Regions from separate parts of the Homo sapiens genome. Here regions 1, 2, 4 and 5 are each linked to region 3. Evidence: promoter capture Hi-C in human tissues and cell types (Jung and others, 2019). All regions are on one chromosome and are shown on one strand. The core of a region is centred on a gene start or on the middle of the fragment in contact, and the rest is flanking DNA. Distances in the headings are between cores, read along the strand shown.

Evidence for each region. The method cuts DNA at HindIII sites, captures the fragments that hold promoters and counts their contacts. A contact is called where the count stands out against the background at its distance.
Region 1: the fragment with the promoter of ZNF586 here is called in contact with a fragment that was not itself captured in region 3 in 2 of the 25 tissues and cell types used here (dorsolateral prefrontal cortex and stomach).
Region 2: the fragment with the promoter of ZNF552 here is called in contact with a fragment that was not itself captured in region 3 in 1 of the 25 tissues and cell types used here (spleen).
Region 4: the fragment with the promoter of USP29 here is called in contact with a fragment that was not itself captured in region 3 in 3 of the 25 tissues and cell types used here (adrenal gland, dorsolateral prefrontal cortex and psoas muscle).
Region 5: the fragment with the promoter of ZNF814 here is called in contact with a fragment that was not itself captured in region 3 in 2 of the 25 tissues and cell types used here (dorsolateral prefrontal cortex and spleen).

Annotation. Positions count from the first base shown.
Region 1 is chr19:57,768,169-57,772,411 of GRCh38, reverse strand. It overlaps ZNF586 (zinc finger protein 586), which reads right to left and starts at 2,736. Exons shown (of 3, transcript NM_017652.4): 1 at 2,534-2,736. The coding sequence starts at 2,569. RefSeq lists enhancers at 2,502-2,751, 2,473-3,012. The HindIII fragment of the contact is 4,771 bases long and covers 1-4,055 here.
Region 2 is chr19:57,813,568-57,817,638 of GRCh38, reverse strand. It overlaps ZNF552 (zinc finger protein 552), which reads left to right and starts at 2,726. Exons shown (of 3, transcript NM_024762.3): 1 at 2,726-2,928. The coding sequence starts at 2,896. RefSeq lists an enhancer at 2,402-2,451. The HindIII fragment of the contact is 37,727 bases long and covers 1-4,071 here.
Region 3 is chr19:57,423,284-57,427,390 of GRCh38, reverse strand. No RefSeq gene overlaps it. Among named protein-coding and RNA genes, the nearest start is that of ZNF749, 10 kb to the left of the region's middle. The HindIII fragment of the contact is 4,324 bases long and covers 618-4,107 here.
Region 4 is chr19:57,116,747-57,121,290 of GRCh38, reverse strand. It overlaps USP29 (ubiquitin specific peptidase 29), which reads right to left and starts at 1,306. Exons shown (of 4, transcript NM_020903.3): 1 at 1,062-1,306. The HindIII fragment of the contact is 14,839 bases long and covers 1-4,544 here.
Region 5 is chr19:57,887,332-57,891,474 of GRCh38, reverse strand. ZNF814 (zinc finger protein 814) reads left to right here and starts at 2,438. Exons shown (of 3, transcript NM_001144989.2): 1 at 2,438-2,708. The coding sequence starts at 2,673. RefSeq lists enhancers at 2,728-2,777, 2,451-2,993, 2,994-3,537, 3,562-4,143. The HindIII fragment of the contact is 24,676 bases long and covers 1-4,143 here.

The sequences.
Region 1 (4,243 bases), core at 1,487-3,986, 350 kb before region 3:
GCAGAACTACTTGGTGTATGAGGAAAACCATCCACACATTATCTAGTCACAGAAGTACTCTGTGTTGATTGTTGTGGGGGAGAGCAGAGCAAAAGCAATTTGTATTTTTTTCCACGCAGAATGGCCAAAACAAACCTCCTGATAGCCTCAGTGAATATTACACCTGCTATCAACTTGCTCATCTCAGTTGATGCAGCTCCCATTGCTACAGCTGCTAAGATAAAAAACCCAGGGGTGTTTCCTGAATCCTCTCAAGCTCTCACTGTTCACATTTAAAAATTGAGTTGCCAGGCTGGGCACGGTGGCTCAAGCCTGTAATCCCAGCACTTTGGGAGGCCAAGGCGGGTGGATCACGAGGTCAGGAGTTCGAGGCAGCCTGGATAATATGGCGAAACCTAGTCTCTACTAAAAATACAAAAATTAGCTGGGTGTGGAGGCGCGCGCCTGTAATCCCAGCTACTTCGGAGGCTGAGGCAGGAGAATCGCTTGAACTCAGGAGGCGGAGGTTGCAGTGAGCCAAGATTCCACTATTGCACTCCAGCCTGGGCAACAGGTCCAGACTCCATCTTGGGAAAAAAAAAATTGACTTGCCCCTCTAAAAAACACAAATCCAGATCTAGCCACATTGCCTAAGCCACAACTCTAGTCCATTAATCCTCACCTCGACTAGGGCAGTAGCTTCCAGTTTGATCTTCCTCCTCCCTCAACCCCACAGTCTGTTGCCCACTCAGTAACCAGACAGCGCCTATTAAGAAATTGGTAACATCACCTCACCCCTCTAGTTTCACTTCTAAGTAAGTATTTGCACACCCCAGTATCAGTTCCTGGGTGAACCCTCCACATGTGTTACATTAGTTGACAGACATAGCAACAACTCCCCATAACCTATGTCACTGATGTAGGTTTGGGGTTTGAGGTTTTTCCAAGATCCCCAGATTGAAGGACCGGAGAAATGGCACTTAAGTGTCCTAGGAGGTGCGGTAGTTCCTGCTTGGCATCCCAGCACTTTGGGAAGCCGAAGCAAGAGGACTGCTTGAGCCCAAGGGTTCGAGACTAGCCTGGGCAACATGGCGAAACCCCATCTCTCTCTCTCTCTTTTTTTTTTTTTTTTCAGACGGAGTCTTTCTCTGTCGCCCAGGCTGGAGTGCAGTGGCGCGATCTCGGCTCACTGCAACCTCTGCCTCCCGGGTTCAAGCGATTCTCCTGCCTCAGCCTCCCAAGTAGTTGGGACTACAGGTGTGTGCCACCAGGCCTGGCTAATTTTTTGTATTTTTAGTAGAGGGGGGATTTCACCGTGTTAGCCAGGATGGTCTCAAACTCCTGACCTCGTGATCCGCCCGCCTCGGCCTCCCAAAGTGCTAGGATTACAGGCGTGAGCCACCGCGCCCGGCCGTGAAACCCCACCTCTACTAAAAATACAAAAAGCCAGTTACTCGGGAGACTGAGATGAGAGGCTCTCCTGAGCCCGGAGAGGTCGAGGCCGTGCTGCGCCGTGATCGCGTCACCGCAACCCAGCCTGGGTGTTGAGTGAGAACCCGTCGCCGAAAAAAAAAAAAGATGCCAAGATCTAGACATGTGGGATAGGATGAGGACCAGTGAAGGACTAGAGCATCCCCTACTTCCTACTGTGGATTCTGTAAGTGCTTCTGTAGCCATGAGGTGTGCCAAAAGGCAGGGCTTTCACAAATGTGTCTGTGCTCGGATTTGATAGACTCAGGCTTCTCTGTAAGCTTTTTTTGGCCCTGCAGCCAGATGACTTCAGACTGAGTCTCTAATCTTGTGGCCCAGTGCTCAATGTCACCTCTCAATGATTCAACCTCTCAATGTCCTCATCACTGCCTTCAACTCTGTTCTTCCTTCGAACATCTTTTGGGAATCGCAACTCTAACACAGATTTCCTCCTTTGTTCAAAACTGTCCATGGCTTTTAGCGTCCTCACAGTCAAAGTTCAACCCTCAGCCTGGTACTGAAGAAACAACTCCGCCTCGGCCAGGCGCGGTGGCTCACGCCTGTATTCCCAGCACTTTGGGAGGCCGAGGTGGGCGGATCACCTAAGGTCAGGAGTTCGAGGCCAGCCTAGCCAACATGGTGAAACCCCGTGGTGGCGCATGCCTGTAATCCCAGCTACTCGGGAGGCTGAGGCAGGAGAATCGCTTGAACCGGGGAGGTGGAGCTTGCAGTGAGCCGAGATCGCGCCACTGCACTCCAGCCTGGGCGACAGAGTGAGACTCCGTCTCAAAAAAAAAAAAAAAAAGAAATAACTCCGTATCACACTTCTTTCCCAGTAGACACACGATGTCCCCGTGTTCCGCATCCTCCTGCCTCAGTCGCGCCTGCAGGCCTTTGCCCTCCGCCAGTCTCGCTCTGCCGACCGCATCAACTGGGTGTCGGAAACAGGGATCCCACCCGCCGGCGCCTCTCCGTCCCTGACAGAGGCCTGGGCTGCAGGGACGCGAGGAGGCGGCCCTCACGATCAGGGGCCTCAGGGTCTGGGTGGGTAGGGTGGGTAAGGCCCGGAGGTCGCAGCGCTCACCTGAGCAGGCGCCCTCAGAGCGGCTGCTGCCGCCATGACTCTGGGCGGGGGGGGAACGCGGGCTCGGCGGTGTTCCTGTCGTTGTCCTGTCCCGGGTCGCGACCAGCGGCGTCGCCGAACCTCAGATCCGCCTGTGTGCAATGGCCACAACCACTCCTCCCGAGCTCGTCCAGACCCAGCATCGCCGGATGGACCTGACAGGCCAAAATGGCTGCCACGGCTAGGACGCCGGAAGTCCTGGCTTGACTTTACGTGCCCCGGCAATGGCACGGCTTCTCTGAAGCTTCATTGGCTCAGCCACGTTACCATTTCGCAGGGCGGATTCTGGGTAATGTAGTTCCCAGACATGGGCAGCGCTTAAGGTGGCTTTCTTCCGACTTTCCGAAGAAAGGGGCAAGCTCCACTGCGAGGGGCGCTAGGAAATGGCGACTCCAGGTCCAGATGCGGAGGAGGGTCTCCCATCTTAGAAGAGGCCATACGCACATTTCTGGGGGTACTGTGTGCAACTGATTGCCCGCGTGTTTGGAGACTTCTTATTTCAGAATTTGTGATGCTCGGCTTCTTCCTTTTTTTTTTTTTTTTGTCTTTTTTTTAAGACATAGTTCTCTCTGTCACTCAGGCTGGGGTGCAGTGGTGTGATCTTGGCTCACTGCAGCCTATGCCTCCCGGGTTCAAGCGATTCTCGTGCCTCAACCATCCGAGTAGCTGGGATTACAGGCGTGTGCCACCATACCCTGCTAATTTTTGTATTTTTAGTAGAGACGGGGTTTCCTCATTTTGGCCAGGCTGGTCTCGAACTTCTGGCCTCAAGTGATCTGCCTGCAATGGTCTACCGAAGTGCTAGGATTACAGGCGTGAACCACCGTTCTCAGCCCATTAGCAACACTTTTATTTATATCTTTAACCTACAGATTCCTCTAGAAATCTGATATCAACATCAAAAAGCTAATGAGACAAATGCTATTATGTTACAGGACAATGGCTGCGGTGTTCAAACATGGAGTATGTATGCATGAGAGAAGAGAGAGACCCTCTCACATTGTTTTATATTCAGTAAAAACAACAAGGAAGTAAAACCAAAGACAGGCAACCCCGCGCCAGGCCCGAAACCAGGCCTAGGCCCGCCTGGCCTAAACCCAGTAGTTAAAAATCAACTTATGATTTAGAAGCCGATGTTATTCATAGATTCCTTAGATTGTATAGAAGAACATTGTGAAACTCCCTGCCCTGTTCTGTTCCTCCCTGACCACCGGTGCATGCAGCCCCTGTCACATACCCCTTGCTTGCTCAAATCAATCACGACCCTTTCATGTGAAATCTTTAGTGTTGTGAGCCCTTAAAAGGGACAGAAATTGTGCACTCCGGGAGCTCAGATTTTGAGACAGTAGCTGGCCAATGCTCCCAGCTGAATAAAGCCCTTCCTTCTGCAACTCGGTGTCTGAGAGGTTTTGTCTGCGGCTCGTCCTGCTACATGCACAGGGTGCTTTTACACTGAGATATTTCAAGTGCCTTAAATCCATGCGTTCACCTCTTTGCTGGCAAGTGCTTATCATTGTCAGTGGCATTGGAATCAGAGTGACTCCATCTTGAAAATGGGCTGGATAAAGTAAGGCTGAGAAATACTCGGCTGCATTCCCAGGTTAGGCATTCTTAGTCACAGGATGAGATAGGAGGTTGGCACAAGATGCAGGTCACAAAGACCCTGCTGAT
Region 2 (4,071 bases), core at 1,477-3,976, 390 kb before region 3:
TTTATATATATAAACAACAATAAAGGATTTGGTAGCTTGATAGTGGTAATAGCTACAGTCCTTAAAGGTAGTGCTCTCCATCTGGTCATACTGGGCATTTGTTAAATCCATGAGTTCATGTCATTGATGGGAAGTGATTATCATTGATTTATCTTAAGAGAGCAGGGAGTGTTCTGCATGAAAAATTAAAATTACATGAGAGAAACAGTTGTAAAATGCAAGATACGAAAGCCTATTAATACTGACTAGATAGGCCAGGCATGGTGGCTCATGCCTGTAATCTCAGCATTTTGGGAGGCCGAGGCGGGTGGATCACCAGGTGAGGAGTTTGAGACCACCCTGGCCAATATGGTGACACCTCGTCTCTACTAAAAGTACAAAATTAGTTGGGCGTGGCGGCACGCACCTGTCATCCCAACTACTCAGGAGGCTGAGGCAGAAGAATCACTTGAACCCAGGAGGCAGAGGTTACAGTGAGCCAAGATTGAGCCGTTGCACTGTAGCCTGGGCGACAGAGCGAGACTCTGTGTGAAAAAAAAAAACAAAAAACACTGACTAGGTAATTATTCAACAGTTCTGACAGAAGTAGTTCTGAGGAAACATCAGTAGATGGTGAAAAAACTTAGGGCCTCAGAGAAATGTTAGCACTGATGTCTAAGAGATGGAATTATGCTCAGCACATAATTGGAATGGTCACTCTGATGGTTTTGGCTTCAAAATGAGATTCTTCTTTTTTTTTTTTTTTTTTTTTTTGAGGTGGAGTCTCACTCTGTCGCTGTATAAAATGGACCAATCAGCAGGATGTGGGTGGGGTCAAATAAGGGAATAAAAGCTGGCCAGCCAGTAGCAGCAACCCGCCCAGGTCCCCTTCCACACTGTGGAAACTTTGTTCTTTCGCTCTTCGCAATAAATCTTGCTGTTGCTCACTCTTTGGGCCCGCACTGCCTTTATGAGCTGTAACACTCACCGCGAAGGTCTGCCACTTCACTCCTGAAGCCAGCGAGACCACGAACCCACCAGAAGGAAGAAACTCTAGACACATCTGAACACCTGAAGGAACAAACTCCAGACATACCATCTTTAAGAACTTTAACACTGCCCGTGAGGGTCTGCGGCTTCATTCTTGAAGTCAGCGAGACCAAGAACCCACCGGAAGGAACCAATTCTGGACACAATACCTTTCAAACAAGGGACCTGTCCAGGCTTCCTTCTGATGACCAACCCACCTCTAATGCTGGCCAGTCTATTTCACACAAAGTTCTAAGTTTTCCTGGTGTCATAGTAACACTGTAATCTCCCTTAAATCCTTTCTTGAAATGTTTCAACATAGTTCCTAGTGAAGTGGGCTTACTTTGTGCCTGACCCATGCTTCTTTGAGACAAAACACCACGCTCACACCACACGCACACCACAAAACAAAGAACAGGTAAAAAGGGCACACATACACTTTTACCGTTTACACCAAACCAGAATCAAAATCCAAATCAGAGTATCCAGAAATCCAAGCCAGGTCAAAACCAAAACGAAAGTATCAAGCAATCCAAATCAAGTCAAAAACAAAAACCAAAGTGCCGGTACAGGCATGCCGTGGGTGATCAGGCCACCCTTCCACTCAAATGGAGTGGGCAAGTTCCAAAGACTAGTCTTACCAAGTTTCAGATGTCCGGACTCCAAGTGCCTGTTCCTTCCCAGTGTTCAGCCGCTGCATTGATCCTCTGTGGGGGCCTGCCACACGCCACTCTGGCGAGGTGTTCCACTGGGGCAATTGCCTACCCGGGAGTGCTCTCAGGTTCTGCGTCCCTCAAGCTGGCCAGAGTCCCCTGTAGGGATGCTCCACAGGGCAGGCCTAAGCTGCCTAAGGGGCTGCCTCGACTATCTGTTAATCACCTGGCTTCCCAGTCAGGGAACCAAGAAATGTAGCAGGACAAGCCGCAGGGCTGTATTCAGCCTGGAGCTTTGGCAAGACTCACATCTCCAACTACCAAGCTCCCCAAGTGAGGAATTCCTGTCCCTTTTAAGGGCTTACAACTCTAAGGGGGTCCACATGAGAGGTTTGTGATCGATTGAGCAAGCAGGGGGTACACGACTGGGGGCTGCATGCAGTGGTAATCAGAACGGAACAGAACAGGACAGGGATTTTCACAATGCTTTTCCATACAATGTCTGGAATCCATAGATAACATAACCGGTTTGGTCAGGGGTCGATCTTTAACCAGGCCCAGGGTTGGCACCTGGCTGTCTGCCTGTGGATTTCATTTCTGCCTTTTAGTTTTTACTTGTTTCTTTGGAGGCAGAAATTGGGCATAAAACAATATGAGAGGTGGTCTCCTCCCTTAACAGCACAAACGCTTAATTAACATTTCTTTTTCTTTTGAGACAGGTTCTGTCGCCCAGGCTGGAGTGCAGTGGTGCAGTCATAGCTCAGTGCAGCCTGGACCACCTGGGCTCAAGCAGTCCTGACACCTCAGCCTCTCAAAATTTGGGATTACAGGCGCGCGCCACCGTGCGGGTCAGGAGGCTTCCCTGAGGGCCCCGGAGGTGGAGCTGGGCTTTTCCTTCCGAAGCGCCCCTGGGAATCTCTCTCTTTACGGCCTTGGAACCTGGGAAACTACATTACCCAGAAAGCTCTGCGTCAAATGACAGCACGGCAGAGCCAGTGAGAGTTCACATTGAAGGCGTTTCCGTGTGCGCAAGTAAGGTAGAGGCGGGACTCCCGGCGCCCTTTAGTAGCGACCATTTCCATTGGCGTTAGGGAGTCCTTGGAGCGCTGTGTTGGGACCGTGGTGGTGACTGGATCCAGGAGGTCGAGAGTCGTTCTTCTCTTTGCACAGACGTGACTCTGCAGCTCTTTAACGGCGCCCGCTGCTCTCAACCCAGCTTACCCCACGTGGTCCCATGGCGGCGGCCGCGCTAAGGTTCCCCGTTCAGGTAATTGTGGCGCCTTCCGTGCTCTCCGGTCACCTCCTAGTCACACAAGTCCTAAAGCAGCGAGGGAGCGGCACCTGTTTACGGCTCTGCAACCCGGACCCGGCGTCGGGACACTGAGGCGCTCTCGGGAGGGATCCCTGTTTCAGACACCCGTGGGATGCGGTGGGGAGAGCGACAGGTACAGGGAGGGGCGCGGGCAATGGCCTGGAGATGGACGGATCCGGGAGGATGGAACCTGGGGTCCACAGGCGCCTGTAGGGAACAACCTGTGAGGCGGAACTCCTCCTGGAAAAGCAAGGAGGCTGGGGGCTGTGAAATCATTGCGAGGACACTAGAAATAGGAGAATTTCCAAGAAAGAAGGGACTGGATCAAAGTCCAGGCTTTTAAAGTTTCCTAAAGGCCAAATAAATAACAGAGTAGAGAGGGGATGACGTTGGGGCCCTTTGAGATTGAATCCTTGTAGATCATATAGGTGGTAGAGATGACACTTTGTGCTGAGACACGCAGGTTAGACAATAGTCCAAGGTCACCTGGCTCCGTGGACACAAAAGCGTTCAGGGAGGCCTGAGCTTACCAGATCCTATCAGGGACACAGTCCTGTAAAGTCAGCCTCTTCCCTCAGGCCTTTATGGCTGTAGAAGCATTTAAGGAACGCATACAAGAAAGTGGAGGGTGGGGCCGGGTGCAGTGGCTCACTCCTGTAATCCCAGCACTTTGGGAGGCCTAGGCGGGTTGGTCCGGAGGTAGAGACCAGCCTGACCAACCATGGAGAAACCCTGTCTCTACTAAAAATACAAAATTAGCCAGGCGTGGTGGCGCATGCCTGTAATCCCAGCTACTTGGGAAACTGAGGCAGCAGACTCGCTTGAACCCGGGAGGCGGAGGTTGCGTGAGCCGAGATCGCGCCATTGCACTCCACCCTGGGTGACAGAGCGAGACTCCGTATCAAAAAAAAAAAAAAAAAAAAAAAAAAAAGAATGAGGTGCGTTCAGAGAGGGTATCTCTGCTGTGCTGAAGGTGCCACATTGGGCTTTCCATGACCTCGGCCATACTAGGGGAAGTGCCTGTCAGGAGGGGGTGGACTCTTATATCACAGCCACCGCACAGATACCTATTTGTTCAACTAACTATTGTTGTTGGTG
Region 3 (4,107 bases), core at 1,530-4,029:
AACATCATTCACAAAAATTTACCATATATCTGACAATTACAACAAATCTCCCTTGCGTGGATGTTTGGATGTGAGATTCAATTTCAGGCTGAGATCTCCCTCAACAAGCTAACACAGGGTCATCCAAGGGAAAGAATACAGTCATGGGTTCTTAGTTTGTTTCTAGCTGGGCCAGTAAAGCTCCTTTCTCATCTCATTCCTCTTGTCCACCTACCACTAGAGACAGAAACAAAACCATGGCTTCAGGCTAAAAGCCTAAAACAAAACAGAGCAACAAAAAAATAGGGTGAGTAAGACAAGCTCGATAGAGCTTTGCTGTTTTTGACCTGTTGACAAAGGAAAAAAAGTATATTGCCTGCATTCCTAAGGACTTTCTCCAGGATGAACTTACTCTTGCTCAGTGAAGTTAGGCTGAATACTTTCTAACATTTGCTGCACTCATAATATTCTGCTGGTTGTATAGTAATAACATACAAAGGTGTTTTTCTGATGTCAGGACATGTCACAATGATAATCATAAAATGTAGACCACTTTGCTACTTACAGCTTGAAACCTAAGGACATAGGCAGGGCTGCAAGAGTTATGAGGGAACCCAAGATAACAGCAAGCTGGAGCTTAGGGGGCAGCTTGTGTGTGCCATGTAAATTGGGGTTAGCTAGGTTTTCAGGGACCCCTGTGCATTGACCAATGGAATAATTTTACAAGCTCCTGGGCACAGAAGCTGTCCCTAGATATCTGATTCCTGATCCTGGGGTGATTGGGTCTTACATATTGTGGCCCAGAGTTTGAGAGCCTGATAAGGAAAATGGTTGGGAGTGTGGACTTAATCTGCTGCTCCAAAATTGTAACTGACAAGCCTCTACCAAGGGCCTTAATGCTAGGCAAAAACATTATTCTTTTGATGTTAAAAAAAAAAAACTGGATATCCACACGCAAAAGAATTAAGTTGCTAAAATGAACTCAAATGCATCAAAGACTTATAAAACAGATATATTAGACTCCATTTAAATTCAAAATTCCTGTGTAAAAAAGGACATAATGGACAGAGTGAAAAGGAAAAAGACTCAATGGGAGAAAGTATTTGAAAACCACATATCTGAGAAGGAATATCTAGAATATGAGGGGTCTTCAAAAGTTTCATGAAAAATGAGAAAAAAATGTATATTATGAAAAAATTGGCCAGGGGTGGTGGCTTAAGCCTGTAATCACAGCACTTTGTGAGGCCCAGGCAGGTGGATCACCTGAGGTCAGGAGTTCGAGAGCAGCCTGGCCAACAGAGTGAAAACCCATCTCTACTAAAAATACAAAAATTAGCTGGGCGTGATTGTGGGCACCTGTAATCCCAGCTACTCAAGAGGCTGAGGCAGGAGAATTGCTTGAACCCAGGAGGCGGAGGTTGCAATGAGCCGAGATCATGCCACTGCACTCCAACCTAGCGTTAGTGAGACTCTGTCAAAAAAAAAAAAAAAAATTATGTATGGATTTCAATTTTTTACACCAAAGTGAATTTGTAATAACTTGTTCTAACAAGTATGAACAGGATCTAGTTTGAGGCACTAAGAACGGCATCAGTTTGAAAACACCTTCTATCAGAGGAATGTGAATTCAGCTAAGGTTGAAGAAAGAACAAATATCAAATATATAGTAAAGCTTGGCTCTAAAAATGGTAAAACCGGCCGGGTGCGGTGGCTCGCGCCTGTAATCCCAGCACTTTGGGAGGCCGAGTTTGGGCGGATCACAAGGTCAGGAGTTCAAGACCATTCTGACCAATATGGTGAAACCCCATCACTACTAAAAATACAAAAATTAGCCGGGCGTGGTGGCGCATGCCTGTAATCCCAGCTACACAGGAGGCTGAAGCAGAAGAATCGCTTGAACCCAGGAAACGGAGGTTGCAGTGAGCTGAGATCGCGCCACTGCACTCCAGCCCAGACGACAGAGTGAGACTCCGTCTCAAAAAAAAGAAAAAGAAAAGTTTATGGGCACAATGACCCAGAGAAATCAGAGTTTACAAACTGATAACCTGTTTTCTTTTTTTTTAGACGGAGTCTCACTCTGTCGCCCATGCTGGAGTGCAGTGGCACGATCTCCACTCACTGCAACCTCCGCCTCCCGGGTTCACGCCATTCTCCTGCCTCAGCCTCCGGAGTAGCTGGGAGTACAGGCGCCCGCCACCACGCCCGGCTAATTTTTTGTATTTTTAGTAGAGACGGGGTTTCACTGTGTTAGCCAGGATAGTCTCGATCTCCTGACCTCATGATCCACCAGCCTCGGCCTCCCAAAGTGCTGGGATTACAGGCGTGAGCCACCGCGCCCGGCCTGATAACGTTTTAAGAAGAGATGAGATGATGTTGACCACGCAGCCCACAATGGCAAACCATTAATAACAATTTGCGAGGAAGAAATTCATCTTGCTCATGACCTTATTGAAGAAGACTGATGATTAACAGCAGAAACAGTAACTGACACCACAGACATCTGAATTGGTTCAGCTTACACAATTCTGACTGAAAAATTAAAGTTGTGCGAACTTTCCACTCAATGGGTGCCAAAGCCACTGAATCCAGATCAGCTGCAGACAAGAGCAGAACCTTCAATGTAAATGTTAAACAAGTAGGATCAAGATGCTGAAGCATTTCTTTGAAGAATTGTACAGATGAAACATGGCTTTATTATTAATTACTATTTGAGATGGAGTTTCACTCTTGTTGCCCAGGCTGGAGTGCAATGGTGTGATCTCGGCTCACTGCCACCTCCGCCTCCCGGGTTCAAGCGATTCTCCTGCCTCAGCCTCCTGAGTAGCTGGGATTACAGGCATGCACCACCTCGCCAGGCTAATTTTTGTATTTTTTAGTAGAGAGGGGGGTTTCTCCATGTTGGTCAGGCTGGTCTCAAACTCCTGAGCTCAGATGATCCGCCCAACTCGGCCTCCCAAATTGCTGGGATTACAGACGTGAGCCACGGCGCCCGCAATGAGAGTGTTTTGAGAAAGTTAGCTAAAGCTTTAGCAGAAAACCCATGGGAAAGCTTCACCAGGAGTCCTTCACTTCAATGCTCCTGCTCATTCCTCTCATCAAATAACTGCAACTTTACAAGAATTCTGATAACCCTAAGGCATCCACCTTACAGTCCGGATTTGGCTCCTTCTGACTTCTTGTTTCCTACTTTTAAAAAATCTTTAAAGGGCACCCATTTTTCTTTAGTTAATATTAAAAAAGATTGCATAGACAAGGTTAAATTCCCAGGAACCTCACTTCTTTAGGGATGGACTAAATGCCTGGTATCATCACTTATAAAATTGTCTTGAACTTGATGGAGCTTATGTTGAGAAATAAAACTTGTTTTCTTTTTGTATCCTTTACTTTCATGTTTCCACAAACTTTCTGAAGTCCCCACATATACTAAAAAACTCCTACATCTCAAAACCAAATAACCCTAAAGAAAAAAAAAAAACTCAACCCAGTAAAACTACTAAAAAAAAAAATTAATAATAAAGTTAAATTAAAAAATGATGCAGCTGCTATAGAAGAGTCCTCAAAAATTTTAAAACAGAATTAACATAGAATGGGAACATTGTGAGTCAGAAATTTAAAAAATTAAAAATATTTTTTAAATGAACATAGGGGGACAGGTGAGTGGATCATGAGGTCGAGATTGAGACCATCCTTGCCAACACGGTGAAACCCCGTCTCAACTAAACATACAAAAATTATCTGGGCATGGTGGTGCATGCCTGTAGTCCCAGCTACTTGGGAGGCTGAGGCAGGAGAACTGCTTGAACCCCGGAGGCAGAGGCTGCAGTGAGCTGAGATCAGGCCACTGTACTCCAGCCTGGCGACAGAGCGAGACTCCCGTCTCAAAAAACAAACAAACAAACAAACAAACAAAAAAAAAACATAGAAAGCACCAATTCTACTTCTGAGTAAATCCTCAAAAGGAATTTAAAGCACAGCCTCAAAGAAACATTTGTACATTCATGCTCATCTGCTATTAACAACAGCTGAGTGGAAACAACCCAAATGTCCACTAATGAAAGGAAAAGTGGCACATACATATATAATCATGCACCTCACTTTTCAGTCAACAATGGGCCACATTCATGACAG
Region 4 (4,544 bases), core at 57-2,556, 300 kb after region 3:
GTATATATAACATATATAAGTATATATATAACATATATATCCTACATTTTCAACACGTGTAACAAATGTGGATAGTTTCAAAAAGATCATTTTACGTTCTAGTAGTTACCCTGTTTGACCAAAGTGTAGTACTTTTATTTTTCTATTGCAGTGCATTTTCTTTTTTTTTTTTGGCGGGAGGTGAGGGAGCGGAGCGGGGATGGAGTCTCACTCTGTCACCGAGGCTGGAGTTTAATGGCGTGATCTCGGCTCACTGCAGCCTCTGCTTCCTGGGTTCAAGTGATTCTCCTGCCTAAGCCTCCTGAGTAGCTGGGATTACAGGAGCCCGCCACCACGCCTGGCTAATTTTTTGTATTTTTAGTAGAGACGGGGTTTCGCTATGTTGCCCAGGCAGTCTCGAACTCCTGATCCGCCCGCCTTGGCCTCCCAAAGTTCTGGAATTACAGGAGTGAGCCACCGTGCCCGGCCTTTTTTCTGTTTTTTTTTTTTTTTTTTTTTTTTTGAGACGGAGTCTCTCGCTCTGTCGCCCAGGCTGGAGTGCAGTGGTGTGATCTCGGCTCACTGCAACCTCCACCTCTGGGGTTCAAGTGATTCTCCTGCCTCAGCCTCCCCAGTAGCTGGGATTACAGGCACCCACCATCATGGCCAGCTAATTTTTGTATTTTTAGTAGAGACAGGGTTTCACCTTGTTGGTCAGGCTGGTCTCAAACTCCTGACCTCAGGTGATCTACCCGCCTCGGCCTCCCAAAGTGCTGGCATGACAGGCGTGAGCCACCGACCCAGCCCTTTTTTCTTTTATATAGTTTTTGAGACAGGGTCTTGCTCTGTTGCCCAGGCTGGAGTGCAGTGGTGCGATCATACCTCACTACACCCTCGATCCCCAAGGCTCAAGTCATCCTCCAACCTCTGCCTCCTGACTATCTGACACTACAGGCGTGGGTAATTTTTAAATTTTTTTGAGACATAGTCTCACTTTGTTGTCCAGGCTGGAGTGCAGTGGCATGATCTCAGCTAGCTAATTTTAAAATTTTTTGTAGAGATGGGTGGGGGGAGGGTCTCACTATGTTGCCCAGGCTGGTCTCCAACTCCTGGGCACAAGCGATCCTCCCGCCTCGGCCTCCCAAAGTGCTGGGATTACAGGCATGAGCCTGGCCAGCATTTTCTGTTTGAATGTTTTTACGTAACCGGAGTCGTCATGATGGAGGTACAGTTCCTTGGACTTCCGGCTCCCATGGCTCTGGAAATCTCAGCTCGGACCCGCCCCTTCCGGCGCCGACTCCCCTGATTCTCCTGGGAACAGAAGAGTTCTGGGCACAGCACGCTGCGTCTGCGCAGTGCCGGGCGCAGGCCTCCCGACCTACGGGTCTAGGTACGGGCTCTAGCGTGGCCGGGGCACATAGAGTTCCTGGCCTAGAGCTGGTGGGGCGTAACGGCAGGAGTTAGGGTTCAGAGAAAACCAGCCCAGGGGCGGGTTCATCCTGTTACCCATTCAGCCTCAAGCGAGGTGGGGTGTGGTAGGTGGGCTGGTGCTAGAAACCACGCCGGGAATTGTTAATAACAGTCATCCCGGCCGGGCGCGGTGGCTCACGCCTGTCATCCCAGCACTTTGGGAGGCCGAGGAGGGCGGATCACCTGAGGTCAGGAGTTTGATATTAGCCTGACCAACGTGGCGAAACCCCGTCTCTACTAAAAATACAAAAATCAGCCGGGCATGGTGGTGGGCGCCTGTAATCCCAGCTACTCGGGAGGCTGAGGCAGGAGAATCGCTTGAACCCGGGAGGCGGAGGTTGCAGTGAGCGGAGATGGCGCCACTACAATCCAGCCTGGGCGACAGAGCGAGACTCCGTCTCAAAACAACAACAAAACCCCCAAAAAAGCGGTCATCCTCCAGGTGGAAGAGACAGAAGAGAGGGTGCGGAAGAGACTTAAAAGTCTTAGGCCTTCAAGCGTGTTTGCCTCAGCCACCCGTGAATCCTACAGGAAAACTAAAACAACTCGGCCACAAGCCCCCAAGTCTTGGGGAAGCGGACGGTTTCCCAGCCGAGCTTTAGGAGGAGGCGCCGCGGGACCTCACGGGTGACGTCGTCCCCGGGGGTAGTTTGCGCAGAGGGTCGCTTTGGGCGCGCTTAGAGTCGCGTGGTGCCTGGGCCAGCGAAGCCCAGGTGCAGTCATTTGTGGCCCTGTCCCGGCGCGCGAGGGGCCAAGGCTGGTCGGGGGCCGGGTCCGCGCGGTAGCAACTGCGTCCTGCCAGCTTCCATCTCTCCCTCTGAGGGCCTGAGCGGCTGCCAGAGTCAGGTCTGCAGGCCGGGCGCTCACGCGTCTGTGCCCAGTGAGGCCCCAAGATGCTGGTGAGGCCTCGACCCTGACTGGTGTCCAGGCTCTTGACACTGTCGTGAGAAGGAATTCATGGATGAGCAGAACAAAGTGTGGAGATTCATTGCGACGGGAATAAGTACGTACTGAAGAAAGAAAAGTGCAGGCATACCACAGAGCATCACGCCCAGCGGGGTTTGGAGCTACCTTTAAATATTTATTTAACCAAGGGGTGGAATATTCATGAAGATTCTTGGAAAAAGGTAAACATTTCTTGGTACTGCGGTGCCACACATTTTTATACTAAATACGGGTGTTCCCCAGAGCTGTCACAGTGGGTGTGTGACTTAGTATGTTAATGAGCACATAATGAGAGGTCCTAGGTGAAACGGGTCGAATCCAGCACCATGTTGGGTCCAGTCGGCTTTAGCCAGCTTGGCCCACACCCTGGTTTTCAGAGTCTTATCCGCCCCTAGCTTACGCAGCGATTTCAACGGTTTCCTTTGCTAGTCATGTGAAACTGTTGCCTGGAATTTTCCGTTCTCCTGTGACCACCTTTATTATTCCTGTCTCAAGGGGCACCCCATTTGTGCCTATAAGGAGACTGCATTGGGACCAGGCTCCTGGCTGCTCATGGAGCCTCAGCCAGATGGTTGTGTGCCTGAGTCCTGTGTTCATTCCACAAACATGCAGCAAGGCTGCGTGGGTTGGAGCCCTGCCTCCAGCGCTTCCCTGCTGCATGACACTGGCAAGTTGCTTAAGCTCTCTGTACCCCATTTCCTCCTCAATAAGGCAGGGATGGTGATCGTACTAGTTCCAAAGGATTATTGTGAGAATTAACATAATACATGAGTTAACACGTATAAAATGCCTAGAACCTTGTCTTTGGATTTCCTCAAACATCCAAGGTGTTTGTACACTAAAGGAAGACACCCAACTTAATTTTCGATCTACAGACCTTGCATTATCTGCAAAATACCGCTGGCTTCTTGACACTGAAGTTATACAAATGTGCCATAATTTTCTTCACAAGTTTCTGGTGTATGTTGATGTTGCTTGAATTAAAACAACCCTGTGACAAGTGGTCTCGTGGAAGTCTTTGCACATGGTCATGCTTGTTTTCTGTGGCTGAACTTGTGGGATTACCTGAATCACCTGTAGGCAAGGTTGTCCCTGCCTCAACATGGTCCCTTCTACCCTTCACAAGACTTCAGTGTGCCCCCATGTCAGCTAAGGCAGAGATTTGGGGCTACGTTACTGGGTAGGGCATAGAGCCAACCTGGATTCTCACATGTTTGTGCTTCCCAAGGACTGCTCCTCAGCCCTCTGCCCTTCCTCAGGAGATGCAGGACATGACCAAAACCCAGATGAGTTTGCATTACTTTTTTTTTTGTTTGTTTTTGAGATGGAGTTTTGCTCTTGTTGCCCAGGCTGACTTGCAATGGCGGGGATCTAGGCTCACTGCAACCTCCACCTCCTGGGTTCAATTGATTCTCCTGCCTCAGCCTCTCTAGTAGCTGGGATTACAGGTGCCCACCACCACGCCTGGCTAATTTTTGTATTTTTAGTAGAGACGGGGTTTCACTATGTTAGCCAGGCTGGCCTTGAACTCCCAACCTCAAGGTGATCTGCCCACCTCGGCCTCCAAAGTGTTGGAATTACAGGCATGAGCCACTGTGCCCGGCCAGTTTGCATTACTTTTTAACTTGCCCTTACATCATTTTCCGGTTGTGTAATACATTTAACAAGCACTTATTGTGTATTGAACACTCACTTTTCTAGGTTAGTGATTCTCACTTGGTGGCAGTTTTGCCCCCAGGGGACAATTGGCAATGTCTGGAGACAGTTTTGGTTGTCACATGGATGCTTCTGCCAGGGTAGAGGCCAAGGACACTACTCAGCATCCTACAGTGCAGTGGATGGCACGCTCCCCACCCACCCCAATCTCCTACAAAAAGAGTTATCCAGCCCAAATGTCAGTAGTGCCCAGGCTGAGAAACCTTACTCTAGGTACAGGAGATGTGGAAGTGAACCTAGCCAACAAAAATCCCTGACCTCATGGAGTTCATGTTCTCCTGGGCCACATTCTAATTTAAGTATTTACATGTATTATCTGTTTATCCATCCAGCCTTCTGTATATTTGCATAGAAAAAATACCTGGGATTGGCCAGGCGCCGTGTCTCACGCCTGTAATCCCAGCACTTTGGAGGCTGAGGTGGGCGGATCATGA
Region 5 (4,143 bases), core at 1,189-3,688, 460 kb before region 3:
CGGCTCACTGCAAGCTCCACCTCCCGGGTTCACGCCGTTCCCCTACCTCAGCCTCCCAAGTAGCTGGGACTACAGGCACCCGCCACCACGCCCAGCTAATTTTTTGTATTTTTAGTAGAGACAGGATTTCACCGTGTTAGCCAGGATGGTCTCGATCTCCTGACCTTGTGATCCACCCACCTCAGCCTCCCAAAGTGCTGGGATTACAGGCGTGAGCCACCGCGCCTGGCCCCTATTTCTTGATTATATCCTAAACAAAGGGTGGATTATTCATGCCTCCTTTTTTTAGACCATATAGGATAACTTCCTGATGTTGCCATGGCATTTGTAAACTGTCATGGCACTGATGGGAGTGTTGCAGTGAGGACGACCAGAGGTCACTCTCATGGCCATCTTGGTTTTGGTGGGTTTTAGCCGGCTTCTTTACTGCAAACTGTTTTATCAGCAACGTCTTTATGGCCTGTATCTTGTGCTGACCTCCTATCTCATCCTGTGACTTAGAATGTCTTCACTGTCTGGGAATGCAGCTCAGCCTCATTTTATCCAACCCCTATTCAAGACGGAGTTGCTCTGTTAAACACTTCTGACAGCTGTGGTTTCTTCCCACAAAGAGGTTGCAGATGGGGTTAGGTTCTTGTTCTGCCAGCTTGGCTCCTTCCCAATTCCTGTTAACTTACTGATTTATTAGGGCCCCATAGATTAGAAATTATCATTTAGGAGTCATGCAGCCAGGGGCCACAAGACTGTAAACATCCCCAGTTGTTCCTAGGGATGGTATCACCATTGCAAAAGCTAAGATTGGTGCTGGAGATATTTTTCAGACCCTGAACTTGATGGATCTGATGGCACCACTCAGATGGGTAAACTGGCTTATCTGGTCTTGTGCCTCCCTCTCCCCCAGAACCCACTCAGCACAAGAGAACAACTTTGACTCCCTATGATTTCATCTCCAACCCAACCAATCAGCATTCCCCAATTCATGGCCCCCTATCTACCAAATTATCCTTAAAAAACCCCAGTCTCAGGAGGCGGAGGTTGCAGTGAGCTGAGATCGTGACATTGCACTTCAGCCTGGGCAACAGGAGCAAAATTCTGTCTCAGAAAACAAACAAACAAATAAACAACAACAACAACAAAAAACCCCAGTCTCGCAATTTTCAGGGAGACTGATTTGAGTAATACTAGTAAGACTCCAGTATGCTGTTCATCCAACTCTGTGTGAATAAAACTCTTTTTCTTTTGCAATTTCCCTGTCCTGATAAATTGGCTTTATCTGGGCAGTAGGAAAAATGAACCCTCTGGGTGTTTACACGTTCATTTTAACAATACAATAATGGTTATTAATCTTTGCATTAATCTTTGCTTCCAGTGGAAGAATTTTGCATCTGAAGGACCATCTGAAATGATAGGTGAATTTGGATCTGTAGCCTTTGGGAACATCTACACTAACTCTGAAATAATATTTTTCCATACACTAGGGTAATCAGTTACAGCCAATAACCCCAAGAAATCTCAATGTGAGTTCTAAGGAGAGGCAGGATGATCCTCTGCCTAGGAGAAAGATCTGCAATCTTTTATTTATTTTTTTATTTTTATTTTTATTTTTTTTTCCAACATGGAGTCTTGCTGTGTCACCCAGGCTGGAGTGCAGTGGCAGGATCTCACTCACCGCAACCTCTGACTCCCATGTACAAGAGATTCTCCTGCCTCGGCCTCCCCAGTAGCTGGGATTACAGGCGCATGTCACCATGTGGGTTAATTTTTGTATTTTTAGTAGAGGCGGGGTTTCACCATGTTGGCCAGGCCAGTCTTGAACTCCTGACCTCAGGTGTTCCACCTGCCTCGGCCTCCCAAAGTGCTGGGATTACGGGCGTGAGCCGCCCGCACCTGGCCCTTATTTTTATTTTTTAGATAAGAGGTCTCGTTCTGTTGCCCAGGCTGGAATGCAGTGGTACGATCTCGGCTTACAGCAGCTTCGAACTCCTGAGCTCAAGCGATTCTCCCTCCTCAGGCTCCCTAACCCTAACCCCAACCTTAGGGCAGCTGGGACCACAGGCCCGCCCGACCACACTCCGCTAATATTTTTTATTTTTTGTAGAGACAGGATTTTGCTTTGTTGCTCAGGCTAATTTCTAACTCCTGACCTCAAATGATCCTTGTGACTTGGCCTCCCAAACTGGTGGAATTACAGGCGGGAGCCACCATACCAGTCAGGACGCACATCTTAAGGATACTCCCGAGGTGAAGCTGGGCTTTTCCTGCAGAAGCGCCTCTGGGAATTGCGCCCTTTACCCTCCTTGTTGCCTAGGGAACTACATTACCCAGAAAACTCAGCCTCGAATGATAGCGTAGAAGACCTCTGAGGGCTCAGAATAAAGGCGTTTCCTGTGTGCACGTGACAATGGGTCCGGACTTCCGGCGCCCTCTGGTGGCGGCCATTTTGATTGGTGTTGGATTTATTTGTAGGAGAGGCTCCTGAGCGCTAGGTCCGCACTGTGGTGACTGAACCCAGAAGTCGGGGAGCAGTTGTCCTCCGCTGCACAGAGGCTACTCTGGAGCTCTGTGACGGCGCCCAGCGTGACCCACTCCTGGGCCAGGATACGGACCGTCGTGCCCATATCTCCTGGCTGGTCGCCCTATCCTCCCGACTCTGCTTAAAACCACGTGGTTCGATGGCTGCCGCGGCTACGCTGAGGCTCTCCGCTCAGGTAATTGTGGGGCCTTCTGTGTCCTCAGGTCACCTCATCGTCACCCAAAAGCAGCGAGGTAGCAGCGCCTGTTCACGGCTCTGCAGCCCGGACGCCGGCGTTGGGACACTGAGGCGCTTGCGGGAGGGGCCCCATTTCTGACACCCGTGGGATGCGGTGGGGAGACCGGCAGGTACAGGGACTGGCGCGGGCAAAGGCCTGGAAGTGAACTGAGCCAGAAGGATGGAATCTGGGGTCCACAGGTGCCTGTTGGGAGCAAATTATGAGGCGGAGCTCCTCCTGGAAGAGCAAGCAGGCTGGGGGCTATGAACTCACGTGAGGACCCTAGAAGGCATGGAGATTTTCGAAGAAAGGAGGGATGTCATGAGCATTGTAAGGGTAGAGATAATCAGGTCCATGCATGTTTGTGTCTTTGCACAGTGTCAGGTGATATTTGAGTCAACAAAAGCCATGAGCTAAATGGAGTTCGAAGGAGGCAATTCTCTTGTGATTCCAGTTCACTTGGTAGTTGGCCATGGGCACAGAGGCTGAAGACACTCCCCAAGTCAGTCAATATAGCAAACAATACACAATAGTATACTTAACATGTAAATGTTAAAGGTTAAACATAACACTGTTGTACCCGGGCGAGTTAGAAAAACGCCACACTTTGAGACGAATTAAGAGTCCTTTATTCAGCTGGCGGCCAAAGAGACGGCTAACGCTCAAAATTCTCTCGGCCCCGAGGAAGGGGCTTGATTAACTTTTATACTTTGGTTTAGGAAGGGGAGGGGAGCTTAAATGCAACAACTCTTCAGAAGTAAAAACATGCAAAAAATTAAAAGGATAAATGGTTACAGAGAAACAAACAATTTAAAAGACAAATGGTTACAAAAAGGCAAGGTACCAGGTGTGGCGCTCTAAATCCTTCATAAGAGTTAGATATGGGCACTACGCCAGACACAAACTCAAGGCTTTATGGTGTTATCTTTTGAGCAAAATCCTGGGAACTTCATACATGGTTTGTTCCCAGTCCCTTATCAGTTAATTGGACTCCTTTGATATGTTGAGAATCTGCTTACACAAGTTAACTCCTTGAGGAAAGGGGGGTGGGTAAGGAGTCCTTAATGTCTTGTAAATCAAGGGGGCCAGGTGGAGCTCGTCTGGCTTTCTCAGCTAAGCGAGAGTCTATTCATGTGGAAACGAGGCTAGGTGATTAAGAGAGCAAAAGGGAGAGTCTAAAAACAGGATTAGTGAAAACAAGGTTGGGCATTACAACACAAGGAACAAAATAATGCTTAGCATCAAGAGGAAAAAGATATAGGAGCAAACGTTATGGAACCAGTTTAGAGGGAGCAAGGAAGACAAAAGGCATCTTGGTCTGGGCCAGTTGGTGGGCAATTGGCCTGCAGTCTTACAAGGAAGAGTCTTTGAGGTGGCAGAGCCTTAGGCAGCA